Linked DNA regions of Homo sapiens: all the other regions are linked to region 5. Evidence: promoter capture Hi-C in 16 types of primary human blood cells and fetal thymus (Javierre and others, 2016). All regions are on one chromosome and are shown on one strand. The core of a region is centred on a gene start or on the middle of the fragment in contact, and the rest is flanking DNA. Distances in the headings are between cores, read along the strand shown. Region 1 has its middle 29 kb from the start of SEC24B. Region 2 overlaps SEC24B (SEC24 homolog B, COPII component). Region 3 overlaps SEC24B (SEC24 homolog B, COPII component). Region 4 overlaps SEC24B (SEC24 homolog B, COPII component). Region 5 holds the start of GAR1 (GAR1 ribonucleoprotein). Region 6 overlaps SEC24B (SEC24 homolog B, COPII component). Region 7 has its middle 45 kb from the start of SEC24B.

Region 1 (3,268 bases), core at 615-3,114, 410 kb before region 5:
AGTTCGACAACAGCCTGAGCAACACAGCAAAACCTTGTCTCTACAAATATTTTTTTTAAAAAAACTAGCTGGGTGTGGTGGCATGTGCTGTGGTCCTAGCTCCTCAAGAGGCTGAGGCAGAGGATCGCTTGAGCCCCAGCAGTCAAGGCTGCAGTGAGCTGTGATCATGCCACTGCGCTACAGCCTGGGTGACAATAATGCTTATTGACATGGACCTGGCATATCTAGTGAGACTAGAGATCATAGATGAAATTGGAAAGTATTATGCAGCTATTGGTTATCTGAATGTTGGGTTTATTGTCATGAAACAGCAGAGTCAGGAAACAAGGTGTTGGCCAGGCGCGGTGGCTCACACCTGTAATCCCAACACTCTGGGAGGCCGAGACGGGCGAATCACTTGAGGTCAGGAGTTTGAGACCAGCCTGGCCAACATGGCAAAACTCCATCTCTACTAAAAATACAAAAATTAGCCAGGCATTGTGGCACACGCCTGTAATCCCAGCTACCCAGGAGGCTGAGGCAGGAGAATTGCTTGAACCCGGGAGACGGAGATTGCAATGAGCCAAGATCTCACCACTGCACTCCAGCCTGGGTGACAGAGTGAGACTCCAGAAAAAAAAAAAGAAAGAAGGAAGGAAGGAGAGAAAGAGAGAGAGAGAGAGGAAAGAAAGAAAGAAAGAAAGAAAGAAAGAAAGAAAGAAAGAAAGAAAGAAAGAAAGAAAGAGAAGGAAGAAAGAGAGAGAAGGAAGGAGGGAAAGAAGGAAGGAAGGAAAGAAGGAAGGAAGGAAGGAAAGAAAGAAAGAAGAAAGAAGGAAAGAAAGAAAGAAAGAAAGAAAGAAAGAAAGAAAGAAAGAAAGAAAGAAAGAGAAAGAAAGAAAGAAAGAAAAGAAAGCAAGAAAGCTAAAAACTGTATTCTGCAGTAGAAGTTAAGGATCTAGAAAGTTTAGGAAACAACCAAGATGGTAAGTTCCTTAAGATCTTAAATGTAAACTGGTAGAAGTCTCCTACCAGTGGACTTCTACACTCAGTCTTAGGAATAGTCTGGATGGCTCACAGTTCACAAATTTGTTTACTAAGGTTGAATTTAGCCCTGGCTTATATTTCATTTATTTAATTCAGCAATGTTTATCATCATTTATTCATTTGCCAGTTGATTCTACAAAAAATTTTAAGCACCTATTTATATAGACACTGTTGACATAAAACAGTCTTTGTGGTGTCTATAGTCCAATGAGAGAGGCAGATGCTAAAGAAATATAGGCACAATTAATACATAAAAGGCATTTTTATGTGGCACACAGTCCATACCATATGACCCAACCAGAAGGTTCAAGTATTTCAGTACAATTTAGGTCAACTTCAATATTAAAAATACTTCCTAAGTACAATAGTAATTTTTAGTGCATATTATAAACAAGGGCCAAGAAAAAAAAACCCTAATTTGATCTTTATATTTGTTAGTTCTTAATGAAAATACTAATTGCTCTTTACCCATTTCTGTGAAACTCTAAATTTTTATTTGTGATGAGTCCAGGTCTATTGGATAGACTTTCAGCATTAGTAAAATGACAGAACATATTACAGGGAAAGTATAAGAACATACAGATTCATTTTCTTTTAAGCTTGGAAACAGGATTCTTTGACTCAAATAGGGCTTCTGTTTGGTGAATTAATGGGTCACCATAACCAAATAATTGTAAGTCACAATTTAACTGAAAACCAGAGAGTAAAAATAGCAAAGACTAAACATATAACATCCTTCTTTCTTCATCTTTGCTTCTGAAAGGTGTGTCTTTCCTGAACTATGAATCACTGCCACAGACTTTGCAAATTTGTTCCATAAGAGGGAAGTACCAGAGCAGCAGTAATGTTCTCATCGCGGGCTTCGCTGCTTCGGAGGGAAGAGGGGCACAGCCTATATAGTTTGGATAACTCTCATTCCCCACAGGTCGCATAAAATGGAAACTGTTAAAACATAAATATTCTGCATTGTTTCACATTACCTTTACACAATAACTGTGACGACTATACTAATAGCAGGCATGATCTTATTGCTTCCTTTCCTTCTTAAACTTGAGTCTTGGGTATCATCATAATCAACATTCTAAAGCTTCCAACATCTCAATCCTAAAAAGTAAATGAAAGCATGGTCCATAAAATTTACAGCTTATGTTTAGTATTTTGGCAACTATTGCTACTCCATAGGCCTGAAAGTAAAATAAATAGGGCTTGAATTTTGAGTCGAAATCAAAATTAAGGTTTTCTTTTTCTTTTATGACTTGGCTTGCTACAGAATTCTGATTGCTACAGAAAAAATTCTGAAAAATATTTGGTAAAATTCTGATTGCTAAAAAATTTTTATGAAATTCCCAGATTAATAATTGTTATTTTAGCCAAAAGTTTTTCAACATTGTTAAAATATAGCATTGGCTAAAGTCTCTCTCTCTATGTGTATGTGTGTGTGTGTATGTATATATAGATGCACACAGACTTTATTTATAATTTTTGCATGCCCTAAAATTTCCGTTTATGTATTCTTTCTGATTGTTTTTCCAAAAAATTAACACCCACATTGACTTATTAGCTTCTCTCCTAAGATAATTTTCTCTCCATATATGAAACAAAGTTGAAAAAAAATAGCTTCTTTTACATCATATAGTAATAATTTCAGTATCACATATTTTCTTCTTTGTCTTCCCAATAACAATTGCTTGAACAATGATGATAATGAATTTGTGGGTGAAATTATTATTACTTTGTGCTTCTTTACCCTCTTTTGTGTAATTAAGGGTACAGTGTACTTCTTTACCTTCTTTTGTGTAATTCAGGGTACAGTGTACTGTTTTACCCTCCTTGTGTAATTCAGGTACAGCAGCACCACATAGTGGACATTTTGGTACTTCTCCGTGAAGAATCATTTCGCTTACCTTCAAAGCAATTGGTTTGCTTTAAGGAATGCAATTTGTGTGGATATTGCTGATGATTATCTCTCTTAATATTGCTCTGGTGAGCCAACATGTGAAGTTACAGATTTCACCTAATATAAGAACAATAATCAGCCTCACAGTCATTGTGAAAAGATAAAAGAGAAGTATTTTAAAATAAGTGTGAAGATACATATAAGTCTGTGCTTCAAATTTACTATGTAATACTAATTATTTCCTAATGTATACTTTGTAAGGGAAGCAAAGCCAATGCTTAGATTTTAGTAATAATAATTCTCAGAGTAAGCCATTCATCCTCATCCATATTCCTATATATCTATAGA
Region 2 (3,049 bases), core at 27-2,526, 310 kb before region 5:
ACCAGCCTGGACAACATGGCGAAACCCCTTCTCCTCCAAAAAAACAAAAAAATTAGCTGAGCATAGTGCCATGTGCCTGTGGTCCCAGCTACTCTGTAGGCTGAGGTGGGAGGATCCTTTGAGCCCAGGAGGTGGAAGTTGTGGCGATCCAAGATCATAACACTGTACTCCAGCCTGGGTGACAGAGTGAGACCCTGTCTCAAAAAAATAAAAAATTATTAAAAAAAAATATGTTGCATATGTATAAGAGAACCCATAGGTAAGGGGAAGGCATACATTTTTCTACCCAGTTATGTGTGTTTTGCGAAAATGTCTCTTTTATCAAAATAACAAATAATTAGGAGTACAGGCTTTAGAGTTGAGCAGACCTAAGTAGCTGTGAAACTGTGCAATTTATTTAACCTCTCAAAGTCTCAGTTTTGTCAACTGTAAAACAGGAATAATAATAGTATCAGCATACTAAAATAAATCATTCAATAAACATTTATCAAATGCCTTGGAAGTTAAATGCAAAGCACTGTTTTCCGTGTACTGGGGATAAAGTTGTGAACAAAACACAGTTCCTGATCTCTGTGGAATCACAGAACTTATATTCTCCGATGAACAGTCAAACTAGTAAATATATAATGTAATGTTTAGGGTATTACAATGAAGAAAAATAAATCAGAATAAGGAGTGCAGGTGGAGGGTGACTCTTGTAAATAGAAGAGTCTGGACAGGTTTACCCAAAGACTTTTAACATTTGAGTAGAGATCTGGGTGAAGTGAGAGAGTAAGCCACATGACTTCTCTGGGAATAAAAGGGTTCCAACCTGCATGAATGGCAAATATGGAGGTCCTGAAGCAGGAACAAGCTTTTTGTGTTCAAGGAACAACACTAAGGCTGGAATAAATAGATATCTCTACATGATATTAACGACTCTTCATAAAATTTCTTGCCTGGCTTTCAGTACTTCTGCTTTTTACTGCTTTGGCATCTCCTTTATTCATTCTTTGTTTATTGACTTTAAAACTTCATAAGTTATTTGGCCAGGCACAGTGGCTCACGCCTGTAATCCTAGCACTTTGGAAGGCCGAGGCAGGCGGATGGATCACAAGGTCAGGAGATCGAGACCATCCTGGCTAACATGGTGAAACCCCGTCTCTACTAAAAATACAAAAAATTAGCTGGGCATGGTGGCAAGCGCCTGTAGTCCCAGCTACTCAGGAGGCTGAGGCAGGAGAATGGCGTGAACCCAGGAGGCGGAGCTTGCAGTGAGCCGAGATCGGGCTGCTGCACTCCAGCCTGGGCGACAGAGCAAGACTCCATCTCAGAAAAAAAAAAAAAAAAAAAAAAAAGTAGGCCTTTTCACTTATGTTTTCTGTGTGCTCCTATTCATCTCCTTCAGGCTAGTCATAATGGAGTAGTTGGTCTTCCCTGAATGTGTACTATTTTTCCACCATGAAAGTGTTGACTCTTTAATTTAGATTTTTTGACATATATTGCATACATGCCTAATTAATCAGGACCTTCTTGCTTACAGTTACAGTAACATGCCCAAATGATTTTCACTTATGTCCTTAAATGTTCTTAGTTATCTTATCTACTTCAGTGTATTTTTCTCTGATAGCTAATATCCTCCATGTTGTTTATGTTTTTTGCAGTTCATTTCGGTGTACTTTGACAAATATTCCACAGACACAGGCTTTACTGAATAAAGCTAAGCTTCCTTTAGGATTGTTGTTACATCCCTTCAGAGACCTAACGGTAAAGTAACATTTTATAATATTTATGGGTACTGACATGTATGCTTATGTACAAGGTACTTAAATTTTATATTTTCTTAGAATTTTCTATATCTTCTTTTATTTGAAGTTAGAAATAATCATTTCCATAACAACTTGGCAAACATTTTTTGAACACCTGCTTTGTGACAAGCTCTAAACTAAGCACTGGTAGTACAGAGATGATCAAGTCATTGAAGTTGCCTCCAAAAAGTTCTTATCTAACAGGGAACAAAGATGTAAAAATAATTACAGTGCAGGATAATTAATACATGTAATTAATCAAATTCTATGAGATACTTAGGTAGTGAGTACAGTATGAGAAGTGATTCCCTGTGGATACAATAGCAAAAGTTTTCTATAAGTGTTGAAGTCTGTCCTGGATTTTGAAAGATTAGTAGTTTTGGAAGGTGGAATGGCCCTGGAAGGTAGATACACTTTCGGAGTTCTTTATTAAACACAAAGGAAACACCAACAGTGATGTCCACTTAGAGAGGAAAACTGCCTGTTCCTTAACAAATTAAACAAATTTGTTAATTCAACAAATAACCTTTGTAACAGTAGGGATTTTTAAACTTGTAAAGTTTTAAAAGTTTTAAATTTTGAAAACTTCAAAAATAATTTTATTCAGGGCTGTTTTATTTGTACTTCATAAGTTGCATTTCTGTCTCAAACTTTTTTTTACTACTGTTGTTTACTACCCTTCTTACTGGTTCTGAGTTTTCTTTTGCTGTCATTCATCCAAAAAATATTGATTGACTACCTGTCACGTTGGAAGCTGGAGATACAAAGGGTAAATTAAAAGCTTCCTTGTGAAGCTTACTTTACTACCAGGAAGTATAGAAAAGATCAAAATGAATAGAAAATAAAAAATTGTAATATGTGATAAGTACCGTGAATTTATTCATTGGGTAAATATTTTTAATCACCTATAATACTCTGAAAACCTTATCTATAAACCAAGACAGTTAATTTCATATATATATGAAATTGTATACTATATATATGTATATATATGAGAGAGTTTTTCTCTAAATACAGATATACATGATACCTTCTGGAAGCATGTATACTAAATTGTTTACAGTGACATCTTCTGTGATATAGAGTTCTGTAATTTTTTATTTTCTCATTCTCAGTTAACTATATTTCCTGATTTTTTTTTACAACAGATATGTGGTTACTTGCATAATAATAATCATATATGTGAAAAAATTAAATACAAAGATCAAAATGTTCATGTGCAGATAGAAAAAAACAGAATGATATACTAAAATGATAGCAGG
Region 3 (2,899 bases), core at 362-2,861, 340 kb before region 5:
TTAGTGATAATGTCAGTTATCTATTGCTGGTTTAAAATAACAATGATTTATTATTTTTCTTGGTTCTGTGGGTTTGCTGGGTAGTTCTGCAGGTTTTTCTTGAATTCACTCATGTGAATTCATTTTGCTGGAGGTTTGCGGGACTAGAAGATTCTAAGATGGCTTCACTCACATGTCTAGCAGTTGGTGCAGACTCTTCACTAGGGTTCCTATGTTTTTCTGTACGTGGCTAGACCAGCTTCCCTGCATGATGATCCATGCAGCATTTCAGAGTGGAAAGGTGTAAGCTGCAGTGTCCCTCGAGACTTGAGGTCTGGGACTTGTACACTTTTATTTCTGCCACATACTGTTGATTAAAGCCAGTCACAGGGTTTGCTCTGATTCAAAGGGTGGTAAAATAGACTCCATATTGATGAAAGGAACTGTAAAATATTGTGATGATGTTTTTAATCTTCCACAATGATAGTTTGTCTTCCTACTAAAAATGATGAAACAGTCAGCATATTTAGACTACCTTCTTTCCCCATTCCTCATATGTGCTTATGTTGTTTTTACACTGTTAGGACATATAACACATTTTGTTTTGTCACCATATTCCTATTTGTTTCAGTCTCAGAACTAAGGTTGTTTACATATATACACACACACTATACATAGACACACATACATACATGTGCAGGTATATATATGTAGATTTATTCAGTATATCGTGACTGCTCACCAGTAGTCTTTTGCCATAGGTTTTTCAGTTATCTCTTGGTTGGATAATCTTGAAGATTACCTTCAATAACTTACCCAGTATTTCTCAACCGGGAACGATTTTGCCTTCTAGGAGACATTTGGTATTTTGAGCTATCACAAAGACCAATGATGAGTCATGCACTTTATTCCAGAAGTTCAACCTCGTATTATGGTTAGGCTCTTACTTAGTTACATGTGAAATAAGGCATCTGGTTAGAAACAGCAAATGAGAAGTAGCAGTTTACAGTGCAAAATGAGATCTGAACTGATACTAGAAGTGTTTATGGAATTCAGAGACCACATTATTGCAGAGTCAAAAACCTCTTACTCACCTCCTTACCTGAGTCACCATTGCATAGTACAATAATCTGTGCAATAATTAGTATTCATAGAGATCATTAGTAAATAAAAGCTTTTTGAGTTCACTTTGTTTAAGAAGGTAAGGAAGATTGCGAAATATTTTAGGAAAATTGTCATTAAAGTTTATTAAAATATTTGATGAGTAATTTTTCAGTTTTTAAAAAATCATTTGTACCACCTTTTCTAGATATACTAGGTAAATGTGATGCTATTGAAGTTTCTACAAGAACTTCAGATAAACTATTTTGTTAGTGATATATATTATTATATAATTATATTATATATTATATACATTATATATAGTATTGTATGTGGTACTATATTATATATTAATATATTTCAAGTTTCTGTGGATGAAATAGTTTCTTCTCTTCAGTTGCAGATTCTTTATCCTGTCCTGTTATGCAAAATGTTCAGCCTCCCAAGTCCAGCCCAGTGGTATCCACTGTTTTATCAGGATCCTCAGGATCCTCATCAACAAGAACACCTCCCACTGCAAATCACCCAGTTGAGCCTGTGACCTCAGTTACACAGCCATCAGAGCTATTACAACAAAAAGGTATTTGAGATATTTATTATTGTATATGCACACAGACACACATACGTATTTATAGAAGATATGAAAAAAAGTTACTTATAATCTCAATCCAAACACAACTTTTGGAATATTAACTTACAGTGTCTCATATATGTTTTACATAATTACATACCATTTTGTATTTTGCTTTTCTTTTTATTACACATAGTTCTTCATATATATTGAGTCTTTATTGCTCTTTTTATGGCTAATTATTCATTGTGTCAATGTATAATGGTTATTTCATTCCTCTGTCATGGGACATTTATTTCCTATTTTTTAAAGGTTATTATAGTTTCTTTTAGGATAGAGAAGCCAAAACTTTATTATTTAGTGACTCTCCATATCCTATTTGATTATTTCTGTGCTTTTTGTTATTGATAACAGAAAGTAAGCTTTGACAGAATTTTGCAAATGAAAGGGGGTGAAAATGAAATTGTAACCCATACTCTTGCGTCATTGAAGAACTATATGATTTATTGTTTGTTTAATATTCTCCATGTGTTAAGTAAGTAAAAGGTAATAAAATGTGTTGTTTTGACCCTGCTTCCCCACATTGTTTCTTTTGGCAGTTTTTGTTTTTGTTTTTGTTTTTCCTGTCTGGCTAAAATTCCAAAGTATTGATGTTTCAGGTTAATATATGGCATTTTTTATTTGATCAGAGATGATTGAACTGTTTTCAAGAATCTGTAGTTTGTATTTCCAGAGCAACCATTGTATTATTTTAGGGACTGTACTCACTATGTAATGACAGCTCCTAACGTTGAGTGTGAAGAACCTTCTTATAGGTCTGAAACTGAGAAAAGGAAAAAAGCATGATAAATTCCTAGGGTGATCTCATTGCTTGTATCTGTTGAGTGTCTATGTGATCAACAGAGACCTTTCTGTCAATTGATCAGATGATACATTACACATTTTCTTACTTGGTTTTTTAGGAAAAGTAACTGCAGCACCAAAGAGTGCCTGTTGATTCTCAACAAACCAGTGGGTATACTGGAAACTGAATTTAGTTCTTAAAAGTATTTGCCTTCAAAGTGAAGGTCCAGTAGAAGTTTTGTTTATCACAAATCAAAAAAGCTTTTAGGATAGATCAAAGCCCTAACTAAATGAATGGTGTCTTTTCTTGTTTTTCCTCTACATTGATGACTGCCTTCCATTTCTTAAATGTTTCGCTTTTTTTGGCCTATTACATTGCCCCTGCTGCTTATTTCTTCCTATTGT
Region 4 (3,302 bases), core at 253-2,752, 320 kb before region 5:
TCTTTTTTGTTTGATTTATTTCACTTAAGCAAATTTTCAGGTTTCATTCACATTGTAGCGTGTATCCATACTTCATTTTTATGGCTAAATAATATCCCATTTTATAGATATACCATATTTTGTTTATCCATTCATCTGTTGATGAATATTTGGAGACTTTTGACCTGATATATCAGCATTCTGCTTTAGTTTAAAATTCACAAATAAAAGGAACACAAAGGAAAGGGCATTACTTTCCATTCTTTATTAAGAGGAAAAATATATGTGCAAAATTGTTCTACTTATCACGAAGAAGGCACTGCATAAATATTAGTGTCTTCTACCTATTACTTATTTAATGGGTGTCTTCATATCCACTGTCTCATTTAGACCTTATAAGAACATAAAAAACCACACATAGGACATTTAAAAAATCGTTAGCATTTTGCAGAAGAGTTATATAGCAAGTTACCTTCACTTATTCTTAGGAGAAAAGAACCACAAAGTTACATAGCAAGTAAATGATGGAGTTGATGTAACTGCAGTCTTTGCCTCCAAATCATGTTCTTTGCTGATAAGAAAATGTTCCTACACAAAAAACATCAGCTATTATGCCCTGAGTCGGTATACCTGATTCTCATGTTCATCTAAAATTATTCAATGAAAAATAATTATGCATACCTGTTCCTTCCCTATTACAATTGAAAATTAACCTAAATGTAGTTTAAACACCAGTTATAATACTGGTATTAATAGCAAGGGATAACCTCTGTAGCACAGAATTTTGTCTTACTGTGAAACAAAGCAAGATCTCTAACATAATAGAAGGATCATGCAGATTTTTTATTTTATTCATCATAATATACGCTAGCATACGTACCCAGGATAATTGTAGGTCTCAAAATATTTGTTGAATGAATGGAAGAAGTATATTGCTTGTTCTTTTCATGTGACCTGTGACCACATTTCATCATAAATTGTCACTGAACTCTCATCTTAACAGGTTTTGAATGAGCACACATAATGAAAATTCTTATAGTCTAACATTTATATGAATTAGTGTGCCTTTCATTTATATTACCTTATTAAATATGGCAGGTGTTATTTAATCTCTATTCTGCAGATATGTAAACTGAGACACAGAAAAGCTTAGTAGCATGCCAGATAGCAACCTAAGCCACAGACTCCTCATTTATGAATGTCTCAGTGTGCTATGATATAAATAAAAGTCATTAAAATTTAATTACCTTAAAATACCCTAATATTGATAAAATATATTTAGTAGTATATTTGGTAGATGTAATCCTTAAGATGTGACTATATTAACATTTCTATCAACCTAAAGTTTTTGTTTATGTGTTTGACTAGTTTTAATAGTTTAATATCTGTTCTTCTCTAAGATACTTTACATGTTTAACTGAATTTTATCCCACTCATCAGCTTCATATTCTCTCCACTCTCATCTTCTATTCTTAACAGAAATTCATTGGTTTTTAAAATGTCTCTAGACATCAATCATTTTACTTTTTTACTAGAATCAGGAATTTTCCTAGTTCCGCAAAAACATCTTTTTCAAAATTGCCAAAGGCTGCTTTAAGATACTTTGTCATTTTAAACCTAGTAGATATTTTGGTTTTCCTTTTAGGTGTTGACAGCTCTTCTACCACAAGCAGTGCTTCTCCAATGCCCAACAGTTATGATGCCCTGGAAGGAGGCAGTTACCCAGGTAATTTGTTTTGTGCTTGCTTGATCTTCATTTTGAAAGTTATTGACCATCAGTTGCCTTCAAATGTGAACATGTATTACACATAATAGCAGGCTATATTTTTAACAAGAAAAAAAGGACATTTTTCTGGCACTTCTCAGCCTCAACTTAATAGCGTTGTCACTAACAACTATGAAGCTTGTTTCTGGGGCTATTATTTTTTGTTGTTATAATACTCTTTATCTTTTTCTAAAAGATTTTCAGTAGCCTTTCTCTTCTTTCCCCTTCTTTTTAAAGAATAACTACTCCTTAAATAAATTTTATATTTCTATTGTCATGCTTAGGTCTTTGAATTTGAATTCTTTTCAACCAGCCTCTGAGTATAGTCTTTGACTCTTTGCTCCCTCAATGGCTTCTGGCTGCTTCTAGTAGGTAAATAGATGCTACCTTCAACTTGGGGGTAGGTTTTGGAGACATCACTTTTAACCATATCTGGAAATCACTTTAGCCATTACATTCAAGTACAGGAGTAGATAGTATTGAAAGAAAAAACTATCATTTCATTTTAATATACTGTGATTTTTCTTGCCCTCCTGTCTCCTATCACTGACAACCTGACAACTGTACCTGATCTCTCTCTCTCTTTTCCTAATGATTCCAAGCTTCAAAACTAACAGAAAAAGCAGTTTTGCCCTTCTTTTTATTTCTTATCTCTTTGTTGATGATCCAGGATGAAGTTTAATTGAAGTTGGAATGTTCTATACTTAAAAAAAAAAAAAACCCATGCTATCTTGCTATCACTATTCTATGAATCAGTAGAAAACTAATCTTTTCAGCTCAGTATGGAATTCCCTTGTAATATTTTAAAAATACTTGAATAAACGACTCAGTTTTTTGTAGTTAAGGATTTTTCCCCTAGGAATTTTGTGTGTGTGTGTCTGTGTGTGTAAGAAGTTGTAAACCATTCCAAAAACAATCTCTTATCAAGATCTTCTAGAAGAGTTGCTTCATTTACTAAAAGATGAACAACCATATAGTATCCCATGAGCTCTAGATTAATGTGAAATGAAATGTCTAGTGTAGTATAGTTGAAAGATTCTGGCCCTGCAGTCAGACTTTGGTTTCTTTGTATTCATTCAGTCAACGAATTCTAATCTTATAATGAACTATGTGTTGAGAGTATTTCAGTAACCTTGGACAAGTTTTCTTTCTATTTATACTACACCAAAATTAAAGAACTACGTGAGCATCTGTAGCAGTAATGTTAAATGAATTGTAGGCCTACTATATGTCAGGTACTAGAATAGATCTATAGAAACCTAGAAATATTATTCTTTCCTGAAGAAGGGGAGAAGATTTAGACCTTCATGTTTATTGGAGTGCAGTGGCATGATCGTGGTTCACTGCAGCCTGGTACTACTGGGCTCAAGCCATCCTCCCTTTTCAGCCTCCCAAGTAGCTGGGACTACAGGTGCACACCACCATATCCAGCTTTTTTTTTTTTTTTTCTTTTCATAAAGATGGGGTCTCACTTTGTTGTCCAGGCTGGTATCAAACATCTGGCTACAAACAGTCCTTCCACCTTGGCCTTCCAAAGTGTTGGGATAATAGGCTTGAG
Region 5 (3,339 bases), core at 314-2,813:
ACACAGCAAAAGATAAGCAAAGGTTTCATACTAAATAGGTAATTTTCATTTTTTGTTTCAAAAATAATACACTTATATAGGCCCATAAAAAGACCAACATTCGTTAAAATCAAATTGCAGCATTTACTAAACTAAAAGAAAAAGAACAAGTAAAGTTTCCTCTCTCACTTATTTTGTTTTTTGTTTGTTTTGAGACCAAGCCTTGCTCTGTCGTCCAGGCTGGAGTGCAGTGGCGTGATCTCGGCTCACGGCAACCTCCGCCTCCCGGGTTCAAGCGATTCTCCTGCCTCAGCCTCCCGAGTAGCTGCGATTACAGGCGTGTGCCACCATGCCCGGCTGATTTTTGTATTTTTAGTAGAGAAGGGGTTTCACCGTATTGGCCAGGCTGGTCTCGAACTCCTGATCTCAAGTGATCCATCTGCCTTGGCCTCCCAAAGTGCTGGGATTACAGGCGTGAGCCACCACGCCCCGCCTACAAAGGTATTTTAAAATCCCATTTACAATAACCCTCTGAATTAGATAGGTACCAAGTTCCACCCTCTTCTAAACACGAGATCAAATATCAAGGTAAGGTCTCAGAGGGTTTGGGTGTAAAAGACTCCAACCAAATTTAATAAATGGGAAGTCATTACCTTTATTTGTGAGAGAAGCTTTGGAGAATGTGGGGGAAGCTGATGTCAAATATAAAGGGCTTAAAGAGAGAAGAGGGAGAGGAGCTTTCAGCACAGTCCAGTTCACAGCCCGTCGGTGCTCAAAACATACTTGAATACCTGGTACAAAAGATAAAAATGATGGTTTGGTTTTCTATAAGACAGCATAGTTTCTTTAAAATTACACACACACATGCATTGCTTTTCTTCCTTTAATTAGTTGAGACCATAGGACAAAAGAAGAGGCATAGTTGAGCGCGTAATGGTGCGAAAATCAAAAGGTTGGGAAGAAACAAGAAACTCAGATAAACGCTTCCGTCGGCTGTGACAGGTTCTGAGGCGCCCAGATCTACTGGACATAGCGCGGCTCAGAAGCCTCAGAGACCTGTCCGCACAGTTCCTGAAGTTAGCAACAAATTAGTGAGTGCTGTTGCGGGCCATTTTGCAGCCAGAGAAGCAAATGCGCAAATGCGCCCAGCCAGTCAGCACGGACTTCAAGAACCAACTTCATTCCTTGCAAGGTGCTTTAGTTCTGGCCGTTAGGGCGGCAACCAAACAGAAACCTGCCCCGCCTCTGGGAGAGAAGGCGGATCCCTAACGCCAGCTATCTCCAAGAGCAACATTGCCGCAGCACTTCCGGGACGTCGTGCTGCAAAGGACGCCGCTGTTATACGTCACTTCCACGGCTCAGCGTCAGGCAAGTTGGCCTCTCTGTTGTAAATTAGTGGTTAAGGTTATCTATTATTGCCACTTTTCCAGCGCTAAAGGCTGTTTTGGAACCAGTGTTGCTTGTTCCGCGGGTGATTGGCTTTTTTTTTTGGCAAACCAGTTATTCAAGTTTCTGGTCTTTAAAAAACTCTGTGGCGGTACGGTAACCGAGGAGGTTCCAGCGCGGCGGAAGTACCCCGCGGGTGGGTGTGTGCGCAAGGCCAGGGCCAGAGGGGCACGTGGCGCCGGTGAGTGGCCGTAGAAGCCGGAGGATTTGAAAATGCTGGACGTGGAACCCAACTGCCGGAGGGAGGGAGGAAGGAAGGGGATGCGGTGCGAAGACCTTGCTGTCTGTAGGGGGAGGAGATACTAATCATGGGGCGGCAAGGGTGGTGTGTGGTCGGTCGGCGCTCACGAGACCATGGAGAAGTAAACTCTTCACCCATCAGGTTGGTGGTCACTGGCTGTCTGACCGTGGGTGAGGTGACAGGGCTGCTTTTGTCTCCTTTATGGTGTTCTCACCGCAGCTCCGAGGGGTTGGAGTATACTCAGAGGCTACAGTGATCAGAAGACATAGGTCGTTTTTTTTTCATCAGGGAGGAGAGAGAATGTCTTTTCGAGGCGGAGGTCGTGGAGGCTTTAATCGAGGTGGTGGAGGTGGCGGCTTCAACCGAGGTGGCAGCAGCAACCACTTCCGAGGTGGAGGCGGCGGTGGAGGCGGCGGCAATTTCAGAGGCGGCGGCAGGGGAGGATTTGGACGAGGGGGTGGCCGCGGAGGCTTTAACAAAGGCCAAGACCAAGGACCTCCAGAACGTGTAGTCTGTATGCAGTCTTCAGTATTTAGCTTATTTGAAGGAGTAGGTGTGGGTTGGGGGTTTGTGTTGTTAGGCAGCAAGTTTGGGATACACAAGCCTGTGTGGAGAATGTAGCATGTAAGGGTGGAGTGGGGAGATCAAGAAAGCTGAGGGATACTTAGAATGCATCTTGGAGGTGGAACTTGAGGGTTGACAGGAAGATATTAAATAGGTAATCGTGAGTACTTATGCCTAATTCCCCGATTTTACAGATGAGAAAACTATGATTTAGAGTTAAGTTTTTTTGCTGGGGTCATAAGGTTAGTGATAAGTGATCAATTAGTGATATAGCTGAAATACAGGCTGGGTGCGGTGGCTCACGCCTGTAATCCCAACACTTTGGGAAGCTAAGACGGGAGGATCTTTTGAAGCCGGGAGTTAGAGACCAGCCTGGATAATAAAGCAGGAGACCCTGTCTGTACAGAAAAGAAAGAAATACAAAGCCAAGTATTCTGACTCCAAAGCCCATGCTTTCTGTTACTACTCAAAAGTAGATAAGTGAGAAAACAATTTGCTTGAGAGGGAAACTGCCAGAGAGGAAATCTAGAAAAACACCTATTTAGGGTAGTTTTAGAGTAATTAACAATGAGATGGGAATGGAAGTCACAGAAAGTGAAACTTACTACATTAAAGAGGAGAGAGGGTGAGTAGTGTCTAACTAAGAATGGCTTGGATGAGTATGCAGGATGGTTTGAAAGGAGCAGTTTCTAGAATAAAAGGTCCCAGCCCACAAGCTGTTGTACCAGTCCATACATGAGACCTTGAGAGCCTGAATCAGGATGGTGACAGTGAGGAAAAAAAAGGAAGGGTTAGATAGGAGAGAGATTTCAAAGGAAACAAAATCGGTAGAACTTAGCTAATGCTGATAATAAAGGGTTCCAGGTTTTGAGCTTGGGTGATAGGAATGAAGACTTGGTTTTGCAGGAATGTGGTATTTTAGTTTGGGGTGACAGTCTAGTTAGAAATAAAGGTAGTTATTTTGAGATTCCAGATGTCCTTGAAAACAATGAATCATTGTTAAAGAGGTGGTAGTGGGAATGGAAAAGTTCTAAGGCAAGAGAAAAAAAAAAAGAATGAAGGCTGATTCTGTTAGGCATTGAAGAAAAGGGAGAACCAAGAGAATGAAG
Region 6 (3,291 bases), core at 356-2,855, 280 kb before region 5:
ATTGTTTTTTAATATAATTCTATTTTTAGTGCTTGGGCATATATATTATAGGTTATCCCTATTTTAATAGAATATATTATTGTAGAAAAATAAGTTTCACGTTACCTGTGTCTTAATGGCTGCATGAAAACTTGTGTTTATTTTTCCCTTTCAAAAAATTTGTTGGCTTGGAATGCTTTACAAAAATTGTAGAGGATCACAAGGTATAATTCAGATTGCAGAAATTACATTGGTTGAGCAGAAAAAAATGATACATGTGACTTGGTGTTTGAGTAATGGAAACCTTCCCAAGGCTTTTTCAGAAGTAAATGGAAAAATATGCATTTCACTAATATCAATAGGGGCTACATGTTTTGGGGTTTGTTTGTAGACAGGGTCTTGCTCTGTCGCCCATGCCAGAGTGCACAATCACAGGTTACTGCAGCTTCGACCTCCCAGGCTCAAGCAGTCCTCCTACTTCAGCCTCCCAAATAGCTGGGACTACAGGCACGTGCCACCATGCCCAGCTAATTTTTTTATTTTTTGTAGAGACAAGGTCTCACTATGTTGCCTAATCTGGTCATGAACTCCTGGGCTCAAGTGATCCTCCCACCTTGGCCTCCCAAAGTGCTGGGATTACAGGCATGAGCCACCATGTCCAGCCTGGCTAAATGTTTTTAGACTTAAGAGATTAAAACAAAAATGTCCAAAAGAATCTAGACTTGTTCTGATTGTCAGATTTATTTCAGAAAAAAATGTATAAGAAGACATTTGAAATGAGGGAGCTGATGAAATGCATTTTTCCATCCTAAAAACTTAGCTGAATTTTGTTTCTTAAATAATGCGTATAAATTTTCTCTCTTATAGTGCCCATTGGATTCTAATGGTTAAAATACCTTTCACTTTGGTTGCTTTTTAGCTGTGGATCGGTCCGTTTCATCAAGTCTGTCAGATGCAAGAGATGCCTTAGTGAATGCTGTAGTGGACTCATTGTCTGCATATGGCTCAACTGTCTCAAATTTACAGCACTCTGCATTGATGGCGCCCAGCTCCCTCAAGTTGTTTCCTCTCTATGTTTTGGCCCTTCTCAAACAGGTAGCTTTTTATACATTGCTATATTTAATATTGTTTTTTAAAATTCTCAGATATGTACATGAAGAAAGGAAATCTAGGTTGTTTTCTAATACTTAACTAGAGGATTATTCACTTTAGCATTGAAAGAGTTTTGAAGAATAGAAAAAGATCAATGGGGCCATGCATGGTGGCTCACGCCTGTAATCCCAGCACTTTGGGAGGCCGAGGTGTGCGGATCAGCTGATGCCAGGAGTTTGCAACCAGCCTGGCCAACATAGTGAAACCCCGCCTCTACCAAAAATACAAAAATTAGCTGGTGGCACGCGCCTGTAATCCCAGCTACTCTGGGGGCTGAGGCAGGAGAATTGCCTGAACCTGGGAGGTGGAGGTTGCAGTGAGCCAAGATCATGCCGCTGCACCCCAGCCTGGGCAACAGAGCGAGACTCCGTCTCAAAAAAAAAAAAAAAAAAAAAAAAAGAAAAGATCAGTGGAAAATGAAGGTATACAAATACATGATGACTTTAGTGAAACCATATTCTCTCTTCTTTAATGTGTGTGAGCAGTTTGCATAATGGTGCAGTCATAGCTCACTCTTAATATGTCCTCTGGAAAGAGACTCTTTAAGGACAGGAACTAATATTAAGCATCTTTCCATGTCTCTGGCACCATAAAAGGTGTCAATGCATCATTTTATTTAATCCTTTCAACAACCTAAAGAGGTATTATTTTCCCTATTTTTCTCATGATGACAGTATAGCTCAGAGGAGCTAGGTAACTTGCTCCAGCATCACATACCTATTAAATGTCAGAGCTGAGAATTGAATCTAGGTCTGTCTGATTTAAAGGCCATGCTTTTTCCATGATTGACAGTGTATATTTGTTTTAATATTTGTCCACCATATTTGTATTTTACTTGAAAACGTTTATCTTTTTCCTTGTAGAAAGCATTTAGAACGGGTACAAGCACACGGCTGGATGATCGTGTATATGCCATGTGTCAGATAAAGTCTCAGCCACTTGTTCATCTAATGAAAATGATTCATCCCAACTTATACAGGATAGACAGATTGACAGATGAGGTATGTATTTTAGTGCATTTGAAATGTTTAAATTTGAATATATTTGAGTGTCTTGTTCTACAGCTAAGATGATAATATACTATCAACTGGTTTTTCTTTTTAACTCTTTTTCCCCCTTGTGGTAGTAATACATTAAATAAGGACACTGGCTGTGGATCTGATTGGATGGCAGGACTCTTAAATACCATCAGTGGTTAAGTAGTTTTAAAAAATAGTTTCATATCAGAAGTAATTTGTCTTGTAGGTTTGCTTATAATATGTATTACAAAGCTAAGTTGTAGAGTGGACATTTCCATTTATATTTTGTAGATATTGACTGCTTCTCTTTATTTTCTTTTTTTTAAATTTTATTTTAAAGACAGAATCTTGCTGTGTCACCCAGGCTGGAGTGCAGTGGTGTGATCTCGGCTCACTGCAGCTTCTGCCTCCCAGGTTCAAGCAATTCTGCTTCAGCCACCCAAGTTGCTGGGATTACAGGCACATGCCACCACGCCTGGCTAATTTTTGTACTTTTAGTAGAGACAGAGTTTCACCATATTGGCCAGGCTGGCCTCAAACTCCTGACCTCAAGTGATCTGCCCATCTCGGCTTCCCAAAGTGCTGGGTTTACAGGCATGAGCCACCACACCTGGCCAATATTGACTGCTTTTGATAAGATCAGTTGCAATTTTGATTATATAGTAAACCAAATCTGGTATCCAATAATAATTTTAATGTGCAAATATGTAGTGTCTTTTATCTTCCCTGTGTGAAAACTGTATTCTTTGGAATTAGTATTCCAAACATAATGTTATGTTGCCAAAGAAATGTAAAAAAAAAAGCTGGCTATGCAACAGAGCCAGTAGTCACACTTGTAATATATTCTGACCCCACCCTAAAAGGGAAGGGAATGTGACAGATCATTTTATGTATTCATGTTTTTACTTTTTAAATTTGAATACATTTGAGTGTGTTGATTCTACAGCCAAGGTGGTAGCATATAATCAGTATTTTTTATATCATGCAAAACTCCCAAGTGTTATTTTCCAATGCTTCATAAAGGGTTAGTGACCATTAGCTCCCAAACTGTGATGATAGTAATGTAATCTCATTCACATTCTCTCTTTTTCTTTTCAGGGTGCAGTACATGTTAATGACAGGATTGTACCACAGCCACCTC
Region 7 (3,197 bases), core at 528-3,027, 430 kb before region 5:
CATGTTGCCAAAAACATGTGGGGAAAGGGCAAGAAGGCCACTGGAATCGCCATGTTTGGGTGGACCCAGTTTCTAATGGCTGGCGTTTGCATATCAAAGGTTGCCAGCCTGGCTCTAGAGCCAGGGCTTTACAAGAAACTTTTGCGGAGATGCTTTAAAAAAAGGAAAACTTAGGGCTGGGCACGGTGGCTCACGCCTGTAATCCCAGCACTTTGGGAGGCTGAGGCAGGCGGATCACCTGAGGTCGGGAGTTCAAGACCAGCCTGACCAACATGGAGAAACCCCCGTCTTTACTAAAAATACAAAATTAGCCAGGTGTGGTGCATGCCTGTAATCCCAGGCAGCTACTCGGGAGGCTGAGGCAAGAGATTCTCTTAACTCTGAGGCAAGAGAATCGCTTGAACCTGGGAGGCAGGGGTTGTGGTGAGCCAAGATCGTGCCATTGCACACCAGCCTGGGCAACAAGAGGGAAACTCCATCTCAAAACAAAAAAGAAAAAACAAAAAAGAAAACTTCCCAAGGACCCCTTTTCCTGTCTATCTGCCTAAAATAATTTCTTAATAACTCCTACAACATTCCCCCATGTGGAGATGCCACACTAACTGCTGTTAGGGGGTTTTGGGCAACGACTCCTTCTGGCTACTTCCTGCTGAAAAGGGGCATCAAATGGGGAACAGCAGCTAGGGCTCCTCCTAGGGTGGATCTAAGGGTCCTCCGAAGAATGGCATGTCCATGTGTAGTTAGTTTACAGAACCATTTGGAGTTTGCTTCTAGGCGAGAAGAAACAATTTGAGGTATAGTATTGTGTATACAGGGTCCAAATATCAATACAAGAAGACAAATAAGCAAGAGAGGTCTTAATAAAGGGGTTAACCAATTCCATAAAGAAGACTGGAATTTATTAGAGGGACTGTGGCCACTCAGGGCTGAAGCCGGCATTTTCCCTGAGCCTGTCAATAATTTTGATTTGATTTTTAAGTACCTATAGATTTTCCTTTACTTTACTAGAGGTGTTAATCCAAAAGCCAGCTGCCAACCTTCTGAACCCCACTACAAAATCACAGTAGAAAATAAAAATCACTATAGCAATTGCCATAAGGTAATACAATTTTCTGCTTACTTGCACTCCACCCAAGCTTCTCCCCTTCACCCATATACACCCATACTATGAACTCATTGAGAAAAAGTCCTCTCTGTTATTCATTTTTAAATCCTGCAAATCTAAAACAGAATTGGGCAGGTAGTTGGCATTCAATCAGTGTTTCTTAAGTGAATTAACTAAATTGACAAGCCTAGTTTAGATCCGTGGCATCACAAAGTCTATCCTCAGAACCCCACACATGCTTTCCTAGCCATTTAGTTCCAAAAAAGAGCATGTTCACTACATAATTGGGACTGACTACTTTGCCAAATTCAAGCATCATTTCTGATACTTGAGAACATTGCTGTTTTTCAGTCAAAACTGTGTTGCATACTTTACTAATTACGAACTGTGAAACTATGGCATTACAGTTACCATTCTGGGGACAAGAGAGAAAAAACACAAGATTTTTATTTCCTGAACTCCTAAAAGTATCTGTTCCTAGTGCCCATGGTATGGGAGTAACACATCTATTACTAAAGGCACCGAGTACACTCAAGGGAATAGAACTGATTTTTATTTTGTCACTCACATTTACAGGTATCTATTTATTTATGTTTCTCTGGTTGAATTCCTCTTGAGGAGTTTACAATTTAATGTGTGCCTTCTTCTTTTGTAATTCTCCAAAGTACCTAGTAGAGTGTCTGGCACATAAAGGATTGTCAATAAACCGTGGCTGATGGGTAGAATCGCCCTGCTAAGTAGGTGGAACAACCCTAAACAAGCATTAATTGCTAGAATTTCTTGAGTCCTGAAAGCAGTCAGTGTCTAAAACCTGGTAAACAGGCTGCTCTGGCCACATGAGTGCTCAGGAATGACTAAACACTTCATTTCTGCAGCCACTGAATTTGTTTTTTTAAAGTCATCTCCAATGGCAAATAAACATATAGTGACCTTAATCTTTCATTTTTATGACCCACTGGTATATAATAAACAGTAACCATAAGGTAGGCTCAATGGTTAGTAATAGATAGCGTAACAGCATTCATTCAAAAGGTTGGCACTGAGAGACTCAAGCTGTGGAAAACAGAACTGAACTCTGTGAGTGCCTATTGGTTAGCACAAGTGAGGTTTCAGTAGAGACATTTGCTCTCAACCTCTCAAAACATTAATCTCTTTGCTTTTTAGGTCTTCTTTTGGTTACCATGAGTAAAATCAGAAGCAAATGTGTGGAGTAAAATAAAAATTAGGAACTCTAATTTCTTAAGAGTAACTCCTGCATTGTGATTTGATAGGGTCAGGAGCTAGAAGGAAGGATTCAATTTTCAGCAGCTCTGAAAGCTTTGCAGCCCGCCATGTGTTTCAGCTTGGCCTTGATCGCAGCCGTCCCTGTTTGCTATGTGGCAGACAGCTGTTCTCTCCCGGCTCTCCGGGGTCATTCCTCCACCTCACACACCAATCCGTGTGTGAAATGAGGCACTAGCAGGAACTGCAGCCCAACATGAGCAGTAGTCTTTGGCTGGAAGGCTCAATATGAGACCAGGACTGATCATCAAAGTGTCTCCCCAAGGGACAGATAAAAAAGACAGGCAGAAAACAAAATTTCCTACTATATAAGACTACCAAGAAATAAAGCTTACAATATGCCACAAAAAATCTACTTCTACTTTCTATCATATCTGGTTCTATTTTCAGCTGTTACAGCTTTCCTGTCACCTGCTGGCTCTTTCTGAAATAAAGATACCAGGAGACTGAACCACTGTGTGGCTTATGATTGAGAGCTCCCTGCTAGAGCACACAAATCACACCTGGCTGTGAGATGCCATTGCATCTAGCACATGACTGCTGTTTGTAAAATGTCCAGTCCTCATTATCAGGCTCAGCAGTCTCACCACCAGACTTTTAATTAATATTTTAAGCATCTGTGAGGGTGTGCATGCCCATGTGCATGTTTATAATACAGCGTCCAGTTTGCTTTCATTTTATATTTTCTGTTTCTGGAAAATGATGATTAAAATGAGGTAGAAAGGACTGTAAAGCCCAAAATACAGAAACTCACCTTTTTCCTTAGAATGACTTATTTTATCATTTTGAATGATCTAGAGCCTAGTTAGCC

Evidence for each region. The method cuts DNA at HindIII sites, captures the fragments that hold promoters and counts their contacts. A CHiCAGO score of 5 or more calls a contact.
Region 1: a contact is called between a fragment that was not itself captured here and the fragment with the promoter of GAR1 in region 5, in 8 of 17 cell types (total B cells, naive B cells, naive CD4 T cells and 5 more). The highest score is 16.2, in total B cells.
Region 2: a contact is called between a fragment that was not itself captured here and the fragment with the promoter of GAR1 in region 5, in 8 of 17 cell types (total B cells, naive B cells, non-activated CD4 T cells and 5 more). The highest score is 13.3, in total B cells.
Region 3: a fragment that was not itself captured here is called in contact with the fragment with the promoter of GAR1 in region 5 in 11 of 17 cell types (total B cells, total CD8 T cells, naive B cells and 8 more); the score reaches 13.4 in total B cells.
Region 4: a fragment that was not itself captured here is called in contact with the fragment with the promoter of GAR1 in region 5 in 10 of 17 cell types (total B cells, naive B cells, total CD8 T cells and 7 more); the score reaches 14.9 in total B cells.
Region 6: a fragment that was not itself captured here is called in contact with the fragment with the promoter of GAR1 in region 5 in 12 of 17 cell types (total B cells, naive B cells, non-activated CD4 T cells and 9 more); the score reaches 13.5 in total B cells.
Region 7: a fragment that was not itself captured here is called in contact with the fragment with the promoter of GAR1 in region 5 in 3 of 17 cell types (total B cells, naive B cells and total CD8 T cells); the score reaches 6.0 in total B cells.

The regions. Positions count from the first base shown.
Region 1 is chr4:109,403,647-109,406,914 of GRCh38, forward strand. No RefSeq gene overlaps it. Among named protein-coding and RNA genes, the nearest start is that of SEC24B, 29 kb to the right of the region's middle. The HindIII fragment of the contact is 488 bases long and covers 1,621-2,108 here.
Region 2 is chr4:109,508,366-109,511,414 of GRCh38, forward strand. It overlaps SEC24B (SEC24 homolog B, COPII component), which reads left to right. Exons shown (of 24, transcript NM_006323.5): 8 at 1,644-1,746. Among named protein-coding and RNA genes, the nearest start is that of MIR576, 21 kb to the left of the region's middle. The HindIII fragment of the contact is 851 bases long and covers 852-1,702 here.
Region 3 is chr4:109,471,527-109,474,425 of GRCh38, forward strand. It overlaps SEC24B (SEC24 homolog B, COPII component), which reads left to right. Exons shown (of 24, transcript NM_006323.5): 3 at 1,478-1,660. Among named protein-coding and RNA genes, the nearest start is that of MIR576, 16 kb to the right of the region's middle. The HindIII fragment of the contact is 920 bases long and covers 1,152-2,071 here.
Region 4 is chr4:109,489,703-109,493,004 of GRCh38, forward strand. SEC24B (SEC24 homolog B, COPII component) reads left to right here. Exons shown (of 24, transcript NM_006323.5): 5 at 1,625-1,705. Among named protein-coding and RNA genes, the nearest start is that of MIR576, 2.7 kb to the left of the region's middle. The HindIII fragment of the contact is 755 bases long and covers 1,126-1,880 here.
Region 5 is chr4:109,814,199-109,817,537 of GRCh38, forward strand. It overlaps GAR1 (GAR1 ribonucleoprotein), which reads left to right and starts at 1,564. Exons shown (of 7, transcript NM_018983.4): 1 at 1,564-1,606; 2 at 1,955-2,180. The coding sequence starts at 1,967. GAR1-DT (GAR1 divergent transcript) reads right to left here and starts at 1,184. Exons shown (of 2, transcript NR_186620.1): 1 at 633-1,184. RefSeq lists enhancers at 940-1,039, 1,210-1,609, 1,620-1,669, 2,020-2,069, 2,240-2,309. The HindIII fragment of the contact is 3,017 bases long and covers 649-3,339 here.
Region 6 is chr4:109,529,391-109,532,681 of GRCh38, forward strand. It overlaps SEC24B (SEC24 homolog B, COPII component), which reads left to right. Exons shown (of 24, transcript NM_006323.5): 19 at 899-1,074; 20 at 1,995-2,132; 21 at 3,249-3,291. Among named protein-coding and RNA genes, the nearest start is that of MCUB, 29 kb to the right of the region's middle. The HindIII fragment of the contact is 3,538 bases long and covers 1-3,291 here.
Region 7 is chr4:109,387,069-109,390,265 of GRCh38, forward strand. No RefSeq gene overlaps it. Among named protein-coding and RNA genes, the nearest start is that of SEC24B, 45 kb to the right of the region's middle. The HindIII fragment of the contact is 1,286 bases long and covers 1,135-2,420 here.